Linked DNA regions of Homo sapiens: region 2 is linked to region 1. The links are contacts of gene promoters, found by promoter capture Hi-C in human tissues and cell types (Jung and others, 2019). All regions are on one chromosome and are shown on one strand. The core of a region is centred on a gene start or on the middle of the fragment in contact, and the rest is flanking DNA. Distances in the headings are between cores, read along the strand shown.

Region 1 (7,658 bases), core at 3,499-5,998:
AGAATCACTTGAACCCAGGAAGCGGAGGTTGCAGTGAGCCAAGATCGTGCCACCACACTCCAGCCTGGGCAACGACAAAAAAAAAAAAAAAAAAAACAACGAAAAAAAAAAAACTAGAGTTTATTTATCTATTCTCCTGTTGATGGATTGGGTTGTTTTCAGATTGGGGCTATCATAAATACAGAACAATGAATACTTTTGTACAAGGGGGTCCTTCCCCACAAAAACTTCTCTAAGAATAGCTTACTTTGACTCTGATCTTTCTAATTTCACAAGCTCTTTGAATAAGGATCTCCTCAGCTTAAACTAGATGCTCACAGCCATGGCAAGTTTGCTGTGAATGTTGCTGTTGTGAGAGTGATAAGTGAGGATAAGAAAGTCCTAGATAAAGTTTCCTTTCATTCAAAAAGCCCCCAAATCATATCTTTTCTAATAAAAAGCAGCCTGAAAAATCAAGCTGCAAGTATAGATAAGCTAAAAGCTTGCATTGGTAAATGCCAGTAGCTGTGCCCATAGAAAAAAGCCACCTGGGGGCCAGGCATATTCAACATGGCGGATCCATCTTCCCTTTTCTTTTTCAACCATGTGTACAGTAGGAACAGACAACATAGTGCCGGCCAGATAGAGACCCCATCTGCATAATAAAACATAAGGGTGGAATGGCCGGCTTCTTCGTGCGCTATGCAAACGTTATACCGGTTCTGACCAATCTCTCAGTCCCTATGTATATCAGACACCACCTTCTCAAGTTCATCTATAAAACCCCATGCATTGGCTGGGTGCAGTGGCTCACGCCTGTAATCCCAGCACTTTGGGAGGCTGAGGCAGGCGGATCACAAAGTCAGGAGATCGAGACCATCCTGGCTAACAAGGTGAAACCCTGTCTCTACTAAAAAATTCAAAAATTTAGCCAGGCGTGGTGGTGGGCGCCTGTAGTCCCAGCTAATCGGGAGGCTGAGGCAGGAGAATGGCGTGAACCCGGGGGGCGGAGCTTGCAGTGAGCCGAGATCGCAGCACTGCACTCCAGCCTGGGCGACAGAGCGAGACTCCATCTGAAAACAACAACAACAACAACACCATGTATTTCACCACAAAACCACTCACTCAGGTTCCCCTCTCTCTCTGCAGGAGAGAGAGCTATTCTCTTTTCTCTTTCTTTCGCCTATTAAGCCTCCCCCCTTTTGTTTTTTTTTGAGATGGAGCCTCGCTCTGTAGCCAGGCTGGAGTGCAGTGGTGCGACCTCAGCTCACTGCAACCTCTGCCATCTGGGTTCAAGCGATTCTCCTGCCTCAGCCTCCCGAGTAGCTGGGATTACAGGTGCATGCCTCCTCACCCAGCTAATTTTTGTATTTTTAGTAGAGATGGGGTTTCACCATGTTGGCCAGGATGGTCTCAACCTCCTGATCTTGTGATCTGCCTGCCTCGGCCTCCCAAAGTGCTGGGATTACAGGCGTGAGCCACCATGCCCGGCCTAAAACTCCACTCTCAAACTCACTTCTTGTGTGTCTGTGTCCTCGATTCCTTTGGCGTGAGACAACGAACATCAGGTATTTACCCCAATGATGCTGCTTCAAAAGCATATCTATTTTCAGAAAATAAAGTTTCCCTTTTATGTTAAAACTGATTCATTAACAATATAAAAAATTGTCATTGAAATTGGAGCAGCCAGGCGCGGTGGCTCACGCCTGTAATCCTAGCACTTTGGGAGGCTGAGGCAGGTGGATCACGAGGTCAAGAGATCGAGACCATCCTGGCCAACATGGTGAAACCCCGTCTCTACTAAAAATACAAGAATTAGCCAGGCGTGGTGGCAGGCGCCTGTACTCCCAGCTACTCGGGAGGCTGAGGCAGGAGAATCACTTGAACCAGGGAGGCGGAGGTTGCAGTGAGCCGAGATTGCGCCACTGCACTCCAGCCTGGTGACAGAGCGAGACTCTGGGTCAAAAAAAAGAAAAAAAGAAAGAAAGAAAAGAAAAGAAATTGGGGCAGCTCAGGAGCTTAAGCAAGGGCACATTTTGGTGTCAGGATTGCGTTCAAACTACAGCTCTACCACTGACACACTAAGAGTCCTCAATCAAGGGGTAATGACTGGCACACAGGAAGGACTCAGTGAATGGCGGCAACTGTAGATTCTTCTCTCCCTTTCTACTTCCCCAAAAAGGGGTGGGTTTGGGAAGAATCACACCATCCCTGACTGGGTCAAAGTTTAAGTCAGAGTAGAAAAAGAGGAAGAAGATAGAGGAAGGAGCTAAGATGTATAAAGTTTTTAATTGCTCTCAAGAACAAAATCAATCCATATACTGAAGATCATGTAATTTTTCTCAGTTACCCACTGGCATAAAGAATAGGGCTGTGGACCAGGCGTGGTGGTTCACGCTTGTAATCCCAGTGCTTGGGGAGACTGAGGAGGGTGGATCACCTGAAGTCAGGAGTTTGAGACCAGCCTGGCCAACATGGTGAAACCCCATCTCTGCTAAAAGTACAAGAAATTAGCCAGGCGTGGAGGTGCACACCTGTAATCCCAGCTACTTGGGAAGCTGGGACAGGAGAGTTTCTTGAACCCAGGAGGTGGAGGTTTCAGTGAGCCAAGATAGCACCATTGCACTCCAGCCTGGGTGACAGAGAGAGACTCTGTCTCAGACAAAAAAAAAAAAGAATAGGACTGAGACCAGTGTACTCTCTTGGAATGTAGCTATGGCCCTGCAACCCCTCCCCGCAAGCTGTCCAGTGAATAACTGAATTGGGTGGAAGAAGTCCTTCCCCCACATTTGTACATTGGAAAATAATATAATAATATATATTATATATATATAGGCAATCTGCCTGCCTCGGCCTCCCAAAGTGCTGGGATTACAGGCATAAGCCACCATGCCCAGCTGGAAAATAATATTTAGTACTAATTCTAAAATTGGCATTTTCTTAAAAAAGGTTACATGAGCTCCTCAGAGAACTGAAGTTTCTCTGGACCCATATAACCCACGTCTATGGGGTCATTCCCACACCTCACAGATAAAATAAGGGAAAGAGTACATATAATTAGGAGCAGACAGGAAGCACACAGAAATGGAAAATGTGTGTGGGCTTTGGCATTGCAGATCTGAATTCAAATCCTCACTCTGCACCTTATGAGGTAAGTATCCCTAGACATGTTACTTAGCCTTTCCGAATCTTGCTTTCCAAATCATGCATAATATTCACCTCCCTGGACTATTGTGAAGATTAAACATGAAAGTAGTTGTGACAAAGATGGTCAGTGGGTATTATCTGTCTTCCTTTCTAGTAAAAAGGCTCTAGACTAGAATGTTCTTAGGTCTTTAATAGGCTTCAGCAATCTCACATGTTAATATTAGTGTTATGTGCTGAACTGGGCTTCCCCCAAATCCATATGTTGAAGCCCTGAACCTCAGAATGTGACTGTATTTGCAGACAGAGCCTTTAAAGAGGTCATTAAGCTCAAATGAGGCTGTTATGAGAAGAGGAAATCGGGACACACAAAGGGAGATACCAGGAATGTGCATACAGAGAGAAAAGGCCAAGGAGGGAGGCGTGGGGAGAAGCCAACCCTGCTGACACCTTGGTCTTGGACTTGCAGCCTCCAGAACTGTGGGAATATAAATTTCTGTTGTTTAAGCCACCCAGTCTATGGTATTTTAAACACATTAATACGACTAATATTATAAAAGTGTGTGAACAGTTAAGAAGTGTGCTGACCAGGTTCTATCCTAGTTTTGTAGACAATTAGCAGTGTGATGTAGGGCAGGACATTTAACTCCTCTCTACCACATTTTCCACCTCTCAAAGCCAGGCTGCAAGGATCTACTGAGATAATGTACATAAAGACCCTATCACGAAATAGGTGTCCCGTAAAGGGTGATTTCCTTCACTTCTGTCTCCAAATATCAGGTTTCTCATCAGTAACTTGGGAGATTGGATGGACTAAGTAGTCCACCTCGTTCCTTTCAGCTTTGATCATCTGTGATTCTAACAACAGTCTTAGCAACAAGAGTGAGTTTCCTGGCCGGGCACGTTGGCTCACACCTGTAATCCCAGCACTTTGGGAGGCTGAGGTGGGCAGATCACGAGGTCAGGAGTTGAGACCAGTCTGGCCAACATGGTGAAACCCTGTCTCTACTAAAAATACAAAAATTAGCTGGGGCGCGGTGCCGGGTGCCTGTAATCCCAGCTACTTGGGAGGCTGAGGCAGGAGAATTGCTTGAACCCAGGAGGCAGAGGTTGCAGTGAGCCGAGATCACGCCACTGCAGTCCAGCCTGGGTGACAGAGCAAGACTCTGTCTCAAAAAAAAAAAAAAAAAAAGAGTGAGTTTCCTTTCTGTAATGCCAAAAAGTGTTTCCAAAGTCCTTTCCATCTCACAGTAGTCCAAGGGGTACATGTACCCCTTGAACCTGATGAAGCCCCAGCAGACCCGATTAACCACCCCTAAAGGTTTCTCGGCAGGCAAATCCAGCCAGGCATGCAAATCACACTCGTCAATGTTAAGGCTTTTGTACATCCCAGACACAAGCTTTAAATGAATGTAAACCCAGATTTTAATATTTGGGCCCCAGACCTTAAAAATCCCATTCTCTCTACCCACAGTACCTGGCTGAGCAATCCAATTGCCCTCTTCTTGGGAGACCAAGACATGTTTTTAAAATAAAGTTTCTTTGTATTTGCTTTCCGTTTCAGTGAGGCCTCGAGTTCTTGTAGACCAGATACCTTCTTGTTCTGTGAGAGGACAGTGTACAGAGAGGGGAACTGCTGAGCAGTTCCTTTTTTTTTTTTCAAAGCACAGTAAGAGTGGTTTGGACACAAGTACTACCAGTTCAGAAAGGGAAGATGGGTGTAGGCAGGAGTAGCCGGGGAAGAAGTAGAACTTCAGAGTAAAAGATGCAAGAGCTAGAAATTCCGTCAAGAAAGGAATTACTCATTTGTTTCCTGTTTGTTCACAACATATGAATTCATTGCTGTTGAGTTACTTATTCTATACCTTAAAATGAAACAAAGTCTTCTGAACATCCAACATATATTTTTTTTCTTTTTCTTTCTTTTTTCTTTTTTTTGAGACAGAGTCTTGTTCTGTCACCCAAGCTGGAGGGCAGTGGCACAATCTCAGCTCACTGCAACCTCTGCCTCCCGGGTTCAAGCGTTCCTCCCGCCTCAGTCCTCCCAGTAGCTAAGACTACAGGCGTGCACCACCATGCCCGGCTAATTTTTGTATTTTTAGTAGAGACAGAATTTCACCATGTTGGCCAGGCTGGTCTCGAACTCCTGACCTCAGGCAATCTGCCAGCCTCAGCCTCCCAAAGTGCTGGGATTACAGGCGTGAGCCACCATGCCCAGCCACAACATGTATTTTTAATGCTTAACCATGGGAGATAGAGCGGTAAATGAAATGAGCCAGCTTAGTTGGCTAAAGCACATTGCTACTGCATTCAAGGTCATGCTTACCCCTGTACCTTGAATCCCAGAGGACTTCCAGCAGATGTGTTCTCTCAGTCAGCAGGGTTCTGGGCAAGGTCACACAGGGCAAACAGATCACCAGTTTTGGTCCACTCCACCGATGACGCACGGGGACACCCTCCGGAGTATAAACAGCCAGGGGCTTGCACAGGCACACTCACATTGGACGTTTGTGTTCACAGACTCCAGGAGGCCAGCTTATACTCAGCTGAGGACTGAAGAAATCTCTCTGCACTTCCCTTGAGGATGACATTCTTGCATACTCTTTCCTCTGTCTTTGCATAAACTACCAGGAACATGTCTTTGTGTTACATAACTTCTTATTTCAAAAAGAGCATTCTGACAGTAGCCTATCTGCCATAGAGGGATACCAAAGTTTCCCGGCAAATAAATGTCTACATCCTGGGTTTTCTAAGGGGGCATCAGTGTCAGTGTTTCCCAACTTGTGAGGTGGGTTTCTCTGAAGTGAGATTGAGGGCTACACTATCAGCTAGATTTTTAAATTGTAATGAAACCTATATATAAACATATGTTCAAGAGAAAAAACTGCAAAGACAGCCACCAAAATAGTAATGATGCTTATTGCTGGGGAATACAATTATAAGCAATTTTAAATTTCTGTCTTTGGCTTATCTGTATATTCTAATTTTATTTATCAACTTATTTATTTTTTATTTTATTTGTTTATTTATTTATTTATTTATTTATTTGAGACAGAGTCTCGTTCTGTTGCCCAGGCTGGAGTGGAGTGCAGTGGCTCAATCTTGGCTCACTGCAACCTCTGCCTCCCAGGCTCAAGCAATTCTTGTGCCTCAGCCTCTCAAGTAGCTGGGATTTCAGGTGTGGGCCACCACCATGGCTAATTTTTTGTATTTTTAGTAGAGACAGGGTTTTGCTATGTTGGCCAAGCTGGTCTTGAGCTCTTGGTCTCCAGTGATCCACCTGTGTTGTCCTCCTAAAGTAATGGGATTACAGGCGGGAGCCACCATGCCCAACCTGTATATTCTAATTCTTCATAGCAAACACCTATTACTTTTGTACTAATAAATGATGTAATATAGAATAAAAAGGGAAAATGTAGAAATATGGTTGTAGTAGGCTGAATAGTGGCTACCCAAATATCCCAAATCCTAATCCCTGGGAACTGTAAATATTGTGTCTTTCCAGATATGTTCCATTTAAGGCTCTGAAGATGGGGAGAGAATTCTGGATGATCCAGGTGGGCCCTTAATAATGGTCCCTTATTACAGAGAGCCAGAGGGAGATTTGAAACTGACAGGAGAAGTCAGTAAGACCATGAATGCAGAGATTCGAGTAATACGGCTACGAGCCAAAAGATGCCAGCAGCCACCTGCAGCTGGAAGAGGCATAAATGGATTCTCCCCTAAAGCTCCCAGGAGTGTGGCCCTGCTGACACCCTGATTTCAGCCCCATGATACTGATGTTGGACTGGTCCTCAGAACTGTGAAAGAATAAATTTCTGTTGTTTTAAACCACCCAGTTTATGATATTTTGTTACAGCAACCACAGTAGACTAATACAGTAGTATTTCATAGTAAAATAAGCAAAATTATATCCATATTCATTCAAGTACATCTTCTGGGCTGCCTCACCAGTTTCCTTTGTGAGTGGATTTGCAGTCAGGTGTTTTCAGGGCATTTCAAATAGGTAATTAACTAGTAACTTCGGCATCCTACGTTCCAACAGTTACGTCCCCTGCCCTTATGTTCTTCCTCCCAGTCTCTCCCAACGCTTATTATCCTAGGAGTGTGGTAAAGTGGAAATGCCCAGAGCTCTGGAGCCAAGTAGACCTGAGTTCAAGTCTGGGTTCCTTCCTGTGACTAATACAAGTCACCTTAGCTTCTTAGCAGTGCAATGATGGTTCCCCAAGTTGCCCCAGGGTTGTTGTGAATATCAGCTGAGATGCCATCTGTGAAGTACCACATGGCACTAACTATTCTGTGACTTTAAGCATATGTAGCTACTCATGCTTTTAACTCCCAGTTTAATGCGGAGGGAAGGAAAAAGTCACGATACTTTTCTTCCTAGAGGCCTGTAACTCATAACTCCAAAAATAATTATTCTGGAATTCTGTTAGTCTTCTGCTTACATATTTAGTGGCAGGGAAGTCACTGGGCCAAATCAGGCAGGCAGCTTCCTAATATGCCTTAATAAAGAGGGGTCAATTTTTTTTTTT
Region 2 (7,658 bases), core at 3,423-5,922, 820 kb before region 1:
TTCGTGGGATCTAAAAATCAAAACAATTGAATTCATGAACGTATAGAGTAGAAGGATGGTTACCAGAGGCCAGGAAGGGCAGGGGTGTGGTGGGGGGAGGTAGAGATGGTTAATGGGTACAAAAAAACAGAAAGAATGAATAAGATCTACTATTTGACAGCACAATGGGGTAGCTGTAGTCAATAATAACCTAATTGTGCAATAATAACCTAATTGTAAATACTATTTGCAACTGTAAATTGTATTTATTTTAAAATAACTTAAACAGTGTAATTTGATTGTTTGTAACTCAAAGGATAATGGATATTCCATTCCCCACAATGTGCTTATTCCACACCACGTGCCTGTATCAAAACATATCATGTACCCCATAATACATATACCTACTATGTACTCACAAAAAATTAATTTTTAAAAATTCAGCAAATAAACACAGTATTGTTGTAGACATTAAACAATATTGATTTTTTAAACTTGAAAAAACCCCTGTATTCAAAATGCTAGTTCTTATAAAACAAGAAATATCTAGGCCTGAAATTTTAATAAGATAAAGAAATATTGATTTGCCAAGAAGGAAAATTATGCTTTTATCTGAAAAAAAAGTGATTTTTTTAAAAGGTAATAGGACTTTTGTAATCTAGTCCAAGTTCCTTATTTCCAGAAAGTAAAAATAATTTGCTCAAAATGTTGGCTCATGAGCATGAGATACACTGTGAGAGAATTTCTTTTCTGCAACTATTCATGATTGGAGATGTAGGGAAAATCTAAGCATAAAATAATAACTGTGAGAATGAGACTGTTTCTTACATAAACCTCTCCATCCAAGTGGGACCCGCAGACAACTCACAACAGGCAACTTGAAGGGAAGCCCTGGCAGATAAGGAAAGCCATTTGGGTGATGGTTACTGTCAATTGACTGATTTGTATTTGCAGGTCACATGCCTGCAAACCATGTAGCTACCACTAAGGTAACAGTGGTGGTGCCTCCATTATCAGCAAAATTCAAACAACTATTAATTAATAGTTGAATTTTGAATAGTTGTTTGAATTAACAACTAAAAATTTTCAAGTAGTAGCCAGAGGACCTTTCAACTCCTGGAGAGCTTTTTCTTGTGGTCTCTTTATTGAAACAACAAAACATAACAAAATAATTAATCTCTAATTGCCGTCATAAAGTTCTGAGGTATTTCTATAAAGAACTGCACTTCCAAAGTCCATGAAGAAAATCTTTCATTACTTTCTAGACACAGTTACTATACAGATAGGAGAATAGTTTAAAATGGTGCTTTCCAAACTGATATTTCGCAGAATACCAGTTCTGATGGGTATTTAAGAAATCTTTGGAAAGAAGTGTCCTAGACTCAAAATACACATATGAAATGCTGGGTTAAACAATGTAGTATAATTTCAATGCAGGTCTTCTCAGAGACTTTTCTGTGATTAATGTGCTTTGTGTGAAGGGTTTCCTGGTTGATTCAAACAACAGAACATTTTTCTTGTGAGTGCTTCCCCCACAATGTGATTTTTTAACACGCAAACTTTTACAAAATAACACAATATTATTCCCACTAAGCTTTTTTTTATTGTGGTAAAGTATACATGACATAAAATTTACCATTTTAGCCATTTTTAAGTGGACAGGTGAGTGGCATTGAGTACATTCACATTGTTGTGCAACCATCACTATCATCCGTCTCTAGAACTTGTTTCACCTTTCCAAATTTATACTCTGTACCCATTAAATGATAACTTCCAATTCCCTCCTCCCCCTATCCCCTGGCGACCATCATTCTACTTTCTGTCTCTATGAATTTTACCACTCTATAGAGTCATGCAGTATTTGTCCTTTTTTGTGACTGACTTCTTTCACTTAGCGTAAAGCCCTCAAGGTTCATCCATATTGTAGCACGTGTCAGAACTTTCTTCCTTTTTAAGATTGAATAATCTATCATTGGATAGACCATATTCTGTTCAGCCGTGCATCTGTGATGGGCACATTGGTTGCTTCCACTTTTGGGTATTGTGGAAAATGCTGCCATAAGTCACTAAGTTTTATTTACTATAAATTTGACTCTGGCCCTATTCAAGAAGTTTAAAAAACTTAGTCCAAAACTTTCCTTTTACCCACAAAATCCTTTCTGATGAATAAGAATTTTTGGCTCTGACTAAGGCACTTAAAAGCTTTAGACAGCCTGGTATCATGATTTTTTATAGGCACTCTGTCTCACTCTTTCAAGGGAAGCATTTGGCAGCCTCGTAGAACTTTCCAGAGAGCACACATAGCTGTCTGACTATTTCCACTCCTCATGCTCAGCTTTGTCCTCTTCTGTAACAAGAAATCATTTCTACCACAGGACTTCACTCACATGAGTCCGTAGAAGCTCTCATGTGGGCACCAGGCAAGAAGCTACGTGACTTAACCTTAAGAATCTGTTTGTTTTTTTCTAATTGGAAGAAGATATTCTCCTATCAAAAGAAAGGGCCTTTCATCAAGTATTTAAGACCCTAGTATCTTTACTAGGCTGAAATTTTATTGCTCTCCATCAGAATTCTTTTAAGAATTAAAGAACAAAGAGGAGGTACTGTGCTTTCTTTTAAGTCAGAGAAGCACGAATTGACGTGACCTCGTGTACAGTGAGAAGAGTGTGCAGGGATGCTTTTAGAAATTAAAAGGCAACCACATTGGCCAGTCAGACAACATGGGGTGGATGACAAGAGTCTAAGAAATGCCAGAGGAAAAGCTTTTCCTCTGGCTTCTGGAAAGTCAAGTTATTGACAATTTTCAAGTGGATAAGAAGAATATTAAGAAGGTGAAATATCTGTTCTACATGCAAGACACAAGGCTTTACAATACATTATCTTCTACTTAACCCCTTCCTTCTCTGTTAACTGCATTTATTCTGGCCCAAGTTTTTGACTGCATTGATTCTGGCCCAAGTTTTCCAGGCCATCCCAATTGCCCTATCCTTTGAGATTTAAACAAAAGTGGATTAAATGACTCTGTCATGCATATGACAAGCTCTCTCCACCCTTCTTTCACTATGATTGCTAGGAATTCTTAGAGACTTATGTTAATATTTCTCCTGGTCATCACTTGGTTCAACTTTCTCCTGTCACAGAATTCTTGTTCTCTGCTGTATCTTCCCTCTTGCAGCTCTTTTCTTCTCTACCTTACATAAACCCAAACCTGGAGCACTCAGTCCCTTTTTGAAAACATTTTCCCAAGCATCATTCATACATGGAGATATGAAGAGTAGGGATGTAGTGAAGATCTTGGAATACTAGCAGAGAAGTCACAGTCCTGAGAAACTCCCCAAGATTGAATATAGAACTTCTCATCTGCCTTCTCTTCTCTGTTTTGTGCATCTTGCTAGGACCTCTTCCCAACACACCCTCTATTTTTTCCTTAGGTTATTCCTTGTGTCTTTGGTGAGGGGAGGAAGATGGAAGGAATCATGAGGCAGGGTGGGGTTGGAGAGGTGCTGTCCTCACCTCGTCTGCTTCGAAGTTGCCCTTGAACACTCAAAATTTTGCTTTCGTTATTTGTGAAGAATGATTTAGTCTTCTTTGACTGATGCCAACCAATCTAGGAAATTCTCCGAGGGCTACTCTTTCATGTCAGAAAATAGCACAGCCGGATGCTTTGTTAAATACAGCCTCTTCTTAAAGACGTAGAGTTTATTTCTTGTTTATCAATATTAAGCCTAGTCTTCCTGACTAGAGCTCACCTTAGCTCAGCTGTTGCACACTTTTCTGAAGATAATGAGTGTTAAACAGAAATTAGGCCAAAGTTCTGTTTGAGGAGAAAACTCTTCAGATTGAGTCTCTTGTTGGCAGATTACTTAGGAAGGCGTAATCAGTGTTCACATTGCAATTTACCCCCTTGCCTGCCTGCACCTCCATGTTTAGGATCAGAAGGGAAAATGATCTGCTTTGAAAGCACAGAAAAAGAGGAGCCCAGAGACACCATTTTGGAAAATGCATTCAAGCACTGTCCAGGGGAGAGGGTGCCCAGGACCCTTGGTTAATCTGGTCCAGGGGGCAAGTCCTTCCCTGTGGTGGCTCTTCTTTTGCTTCCGTTGCCTACTGATATGGTTTGGCTGTGTCCCCACCCAAATCTCAATTTGAATTGTATCTCTCAGAATTCCCATGTGTGGTGGGAGGGACCCAGGGAGAGGTAATTGAATCATGGGGGCAGGTCTTTCCCATGCTACTTTCATAATAGTGAATAAGTCTCATGAGATCTGATGGGTTTATCAGAGGTTTCTGCTTTTGCTTCCTCCTCATTTTCTCTTGCTCCCACCATGTTAGAAGTGCCTTTCACCTCCTGCCATGATTTTGAGGCCTTCCCAGCCATGTGGAACTGTAAGTCCAATTAAACCTCTTTTTCTTCCCAGTCTCAGGTATGTCTTTATTAGCATCATGAAAACAGACTAATACACCTACTCAATGAGAATCCTTTGAAAAATTGAGTTCTCATGTGTCTCGATCACAAATCAGCAAAAGTGCTGGTCAGGCCAATATGCTTCTAGTCTTCCTCATAACACATTCCTCATTGTAAATAATTAAAACAGCATTTGGGTTTTATAAATCTTCTTCTTGATAGCTCTGTTAGCATTACTGAGCATCTAACCCCTATCATCTCTAGTATATTGGGTCCTAAGATCGCAAGCCAAGGGCCTTTACTGGAACTCAGTGTATTCACCAAGGTAAATGTCACTTGGCAATGTGAGGCTTCTTCATGATGGGTCAATTGGCCTTTCCCAGGCAACAACTCTTATGTCTTTTTATGGGTTCCATTCTTCGGTTCAGAAAGTAGAAACTACTTTGAGAATTTTAAGCAGGAAGGGACTTAATTCAGAGAATTAGATATTTTCAAAATCATTGTAGGGGCTTAAGGATCAGGTTCTAGACTGGTCCTCCTGGAATAATCCCCAGGAGTATAGAACTCATCCATCATGGAAACGACTCCTTTGAGACTGTCACTGTAGCTATAGATACAAAAAGTCACTGCCTTGCTTGCTGCCTCTCATGCCTAGGAAATTGGACAGTGGACACCCCAGGCTGTAATTAAGATTAGAAGTCACAGAGGAGGTAGCATGGGGCAGGATGTCAAAGTAGAAGGCGCCATCAATCATGCTCCCAGAAGGACACCAATTTAACAACTATCTACACACCAAAGAAGTACGTTCATGAGAATCAAAACACAGGTGAGCACTCATAGTATCTGGTTTTAACTTTGCATCACTGAAAGAGGTATCGAAGAGGTAGGAAAAGCAGTACTGAATCACCAATGCCACCCCTTCCCCATATCCAGCAGTGACAGCATGATGCAGAGAGCGATTCTATGTTGGGAAGAAGGAGAGTGCAGCATTTGTGAGACATTGAACTCAGTTCTGCCCTGTTATAGCAGAAAGCAAAATTGGACCAAACTCAGCTGACACCCACCCATGGAGTGAACATTCCTAGCCAGAGAGGAATCACCAATCTCAGTGGTCAGAACTTGAGTTCCCACAAGCCTTTCCATCATGATCTAAAGTGCTCTGGGGCCCTAAATTAACTTGGATGGCAATCTAGGCCACAAAGTCTGAACCTTCTAGGTGAGTCCTAGTGCTGAACTAGGTCCAGTGCCTGTGTACTGGGTAGGGGAGGAGTGGGAACATGACCTACTGAGACATCAGCTAGAGTGGCTAAGGGAGTGGCATCACCCCTTTCCTAACCCCAGGCTGCACAGCTCATGGCTCCAAAAGAGCTCCCTTCCTTCTGCTTGAGGAGAGGAGAGGTAAGAGTGGGGAGGTCTTTGTTTTGCACATTGGATACCAGCTCAGCCACAGCAGGATTACGGCATTGGTCAGAGGCATGAGACACCCTTTCCAGGTCCTAGCTCTCAGATGATATTTCTACACATACCCTACACCAGAAAGGGACCTACTGCCTTGAAGAGAAGGACCTACTTCTGGCAGGATTCATCACCTGCTAACTGAAGAAGCCTTGGGCCCTGAATAACCACCAGCAATACCCAGGTAGTACATCGTGGGCCTTGGGTGAGACTCTGAGACTAGCTGGATTCAGGTGAGACTCAGCACATTCTGAGCTGTAGTGGCCATGGGGCGAGACTCCTTCTGCTTGAGAAAAGTGGAGGGAAAAATAAAGGGAGCTCTGTCTTTCACCTCAGGTACCAGCTAGGCCATAGGTGCGTAGAGCACCAAGCAGGCTCTTGGAGCCCCCAATTCCAGGACCTAGGACTTGGATGGCATTTCTGGATCTGCTCTGGGGCAGAGTGGAACCCACTGCCCTGAACAGTGAGTCCCAGGCGAGGCATCATTCACCACAAGCTGACTGAAGAGCCATAGGGTCTTTAAGGAACATAGGTGGTAGTCTGGTAGCACTCTCAGTGTGTCTGTGTTGGTGGTGGCCATGGGATGAGGCTCCTCTGCCTTTGGAAAGGGGAGGGAAGAGTGGGAAGAACTATATGTTGTGGTTTGGGGGACAGCTCAATCAGAGTACAACAGAACACTAGATAGACTTCTAAAGTTGTTGACCTGGCTTCCAGATGGCACCTCTGGACTTGCCTGAGGCCTGGGGTAACATGTCATCCTGGAGGGAAGGACACAGGCCTGGATGGCTTTGCCACCTGCTGATCACAGAGCCCTAAGGCATTGAGCAAGCATAGGCAGTAATGAGGTAATGATTACAATAGGCCTTGGGTGAGACCTAATGCTGTATTGGCTTGAGGTCAGAACCAGCACTGTCCTAGTGGTGGTGGCCATAGGGGTGCTTATGTCACCCTGCACCCAGCTTCGGGGTGGGGGGGGGAGAGAGAGAGAGAGAGAGAGAGAGAGAGAGAGACAAAGGAAAGAAAGAAAGAAAAGAAAGAGAGAGAGAGAGAAGAAAGAAAGAAAAGAAAGAAAGAAAGAAAGAAAAAAGAAAGAAAGAAAGAAAAAAGAAAGAAAGAAAGAGAAAGAAAAAAGAAAGAAAGAAAAAGAAAGACTCCATTTGTTTGGGAGAAAGTAAAGGAAGAAAACAAGAGTCTATGTCTGGTAATCCAGGGAATACTTCTGGATCTTTTACAAGACCATCAAGGTAGTACCTCTATGAGTCTGCAAGAACCACAGCATTACTGGGCTTGGGATGTCTCCTAAAGCAGATATAGCTCAGATCACAACACACAAGTCTTTTTGAATATCTGGAAAGCCTTCCCAAGAAGAATGGGTACAAACAAGCCCAGACAGCAAAGACTGCAATGAATACCCAGTAATTCTTCAATACCCAGACACAGATGAACATCTACAAGTCTCAAGACCTTGCAGGAAAACATGATCTCACCAAATGAACTAAATAAGGCACCAGGGACAATCTTGGAGAAACAGAGATAAGTTATCTTTCAGATAGAGAGTTCTAGATAATTGTTTTCAGGAAACTCAAAGAAATTCAAAACAATACAGGGAAATAATTGAGAATTCTATCTGATAAATTTAACAAAATAAAGCAGAAATTCTGGAGTTGAAAAATAAATTGACACATGGAAAAATGCATCAAAGTTTTTAAATAGCAGAACTGATCAAGCAAAAGAAAGAATTAGTGAGCTTGAAGACAGGCTATTTGAAAATATATGGTCAAGGGAGACAAAAGAAAAAAGAATGAAAAACAGTGACACA

The links. Contacts are between HindIII fragments. The study calls those that stand out against the background at their distance.
Region 2: a contact is called between a fragment that was not itself captured here and the fragment with the promoter of NLRC4 in region 1, in 2 of the 25 tissues and cell types used here (liver and mesendoderm cells).

Annotation. Positions count from the first base shown.
Region 1 is chr2:32,260,138-32,267,795 of GRCh38, forward strand. It overlaps NLRC4 (NLR family CARD domain containing 4), which reads right to left and starts at 4,749. Exons shown (of 9, transcript NM_001199138.2): 1 at 4,601-4,749. The HindIII fragment of the contact is 13,663 bases long and covers 2,503-7,658 here.
Region 2 is chr2:31,444,825-31,452,482 of GRCh38, forward strand. No RefSeq gene overlaps it. Among named protein-coding and RNA genes, the nearest start is that of XDH, 34 kb to the left of the region's middle. The HindIII fragment of the contact is 5,591 bases long and covers 1,878-7,468 here.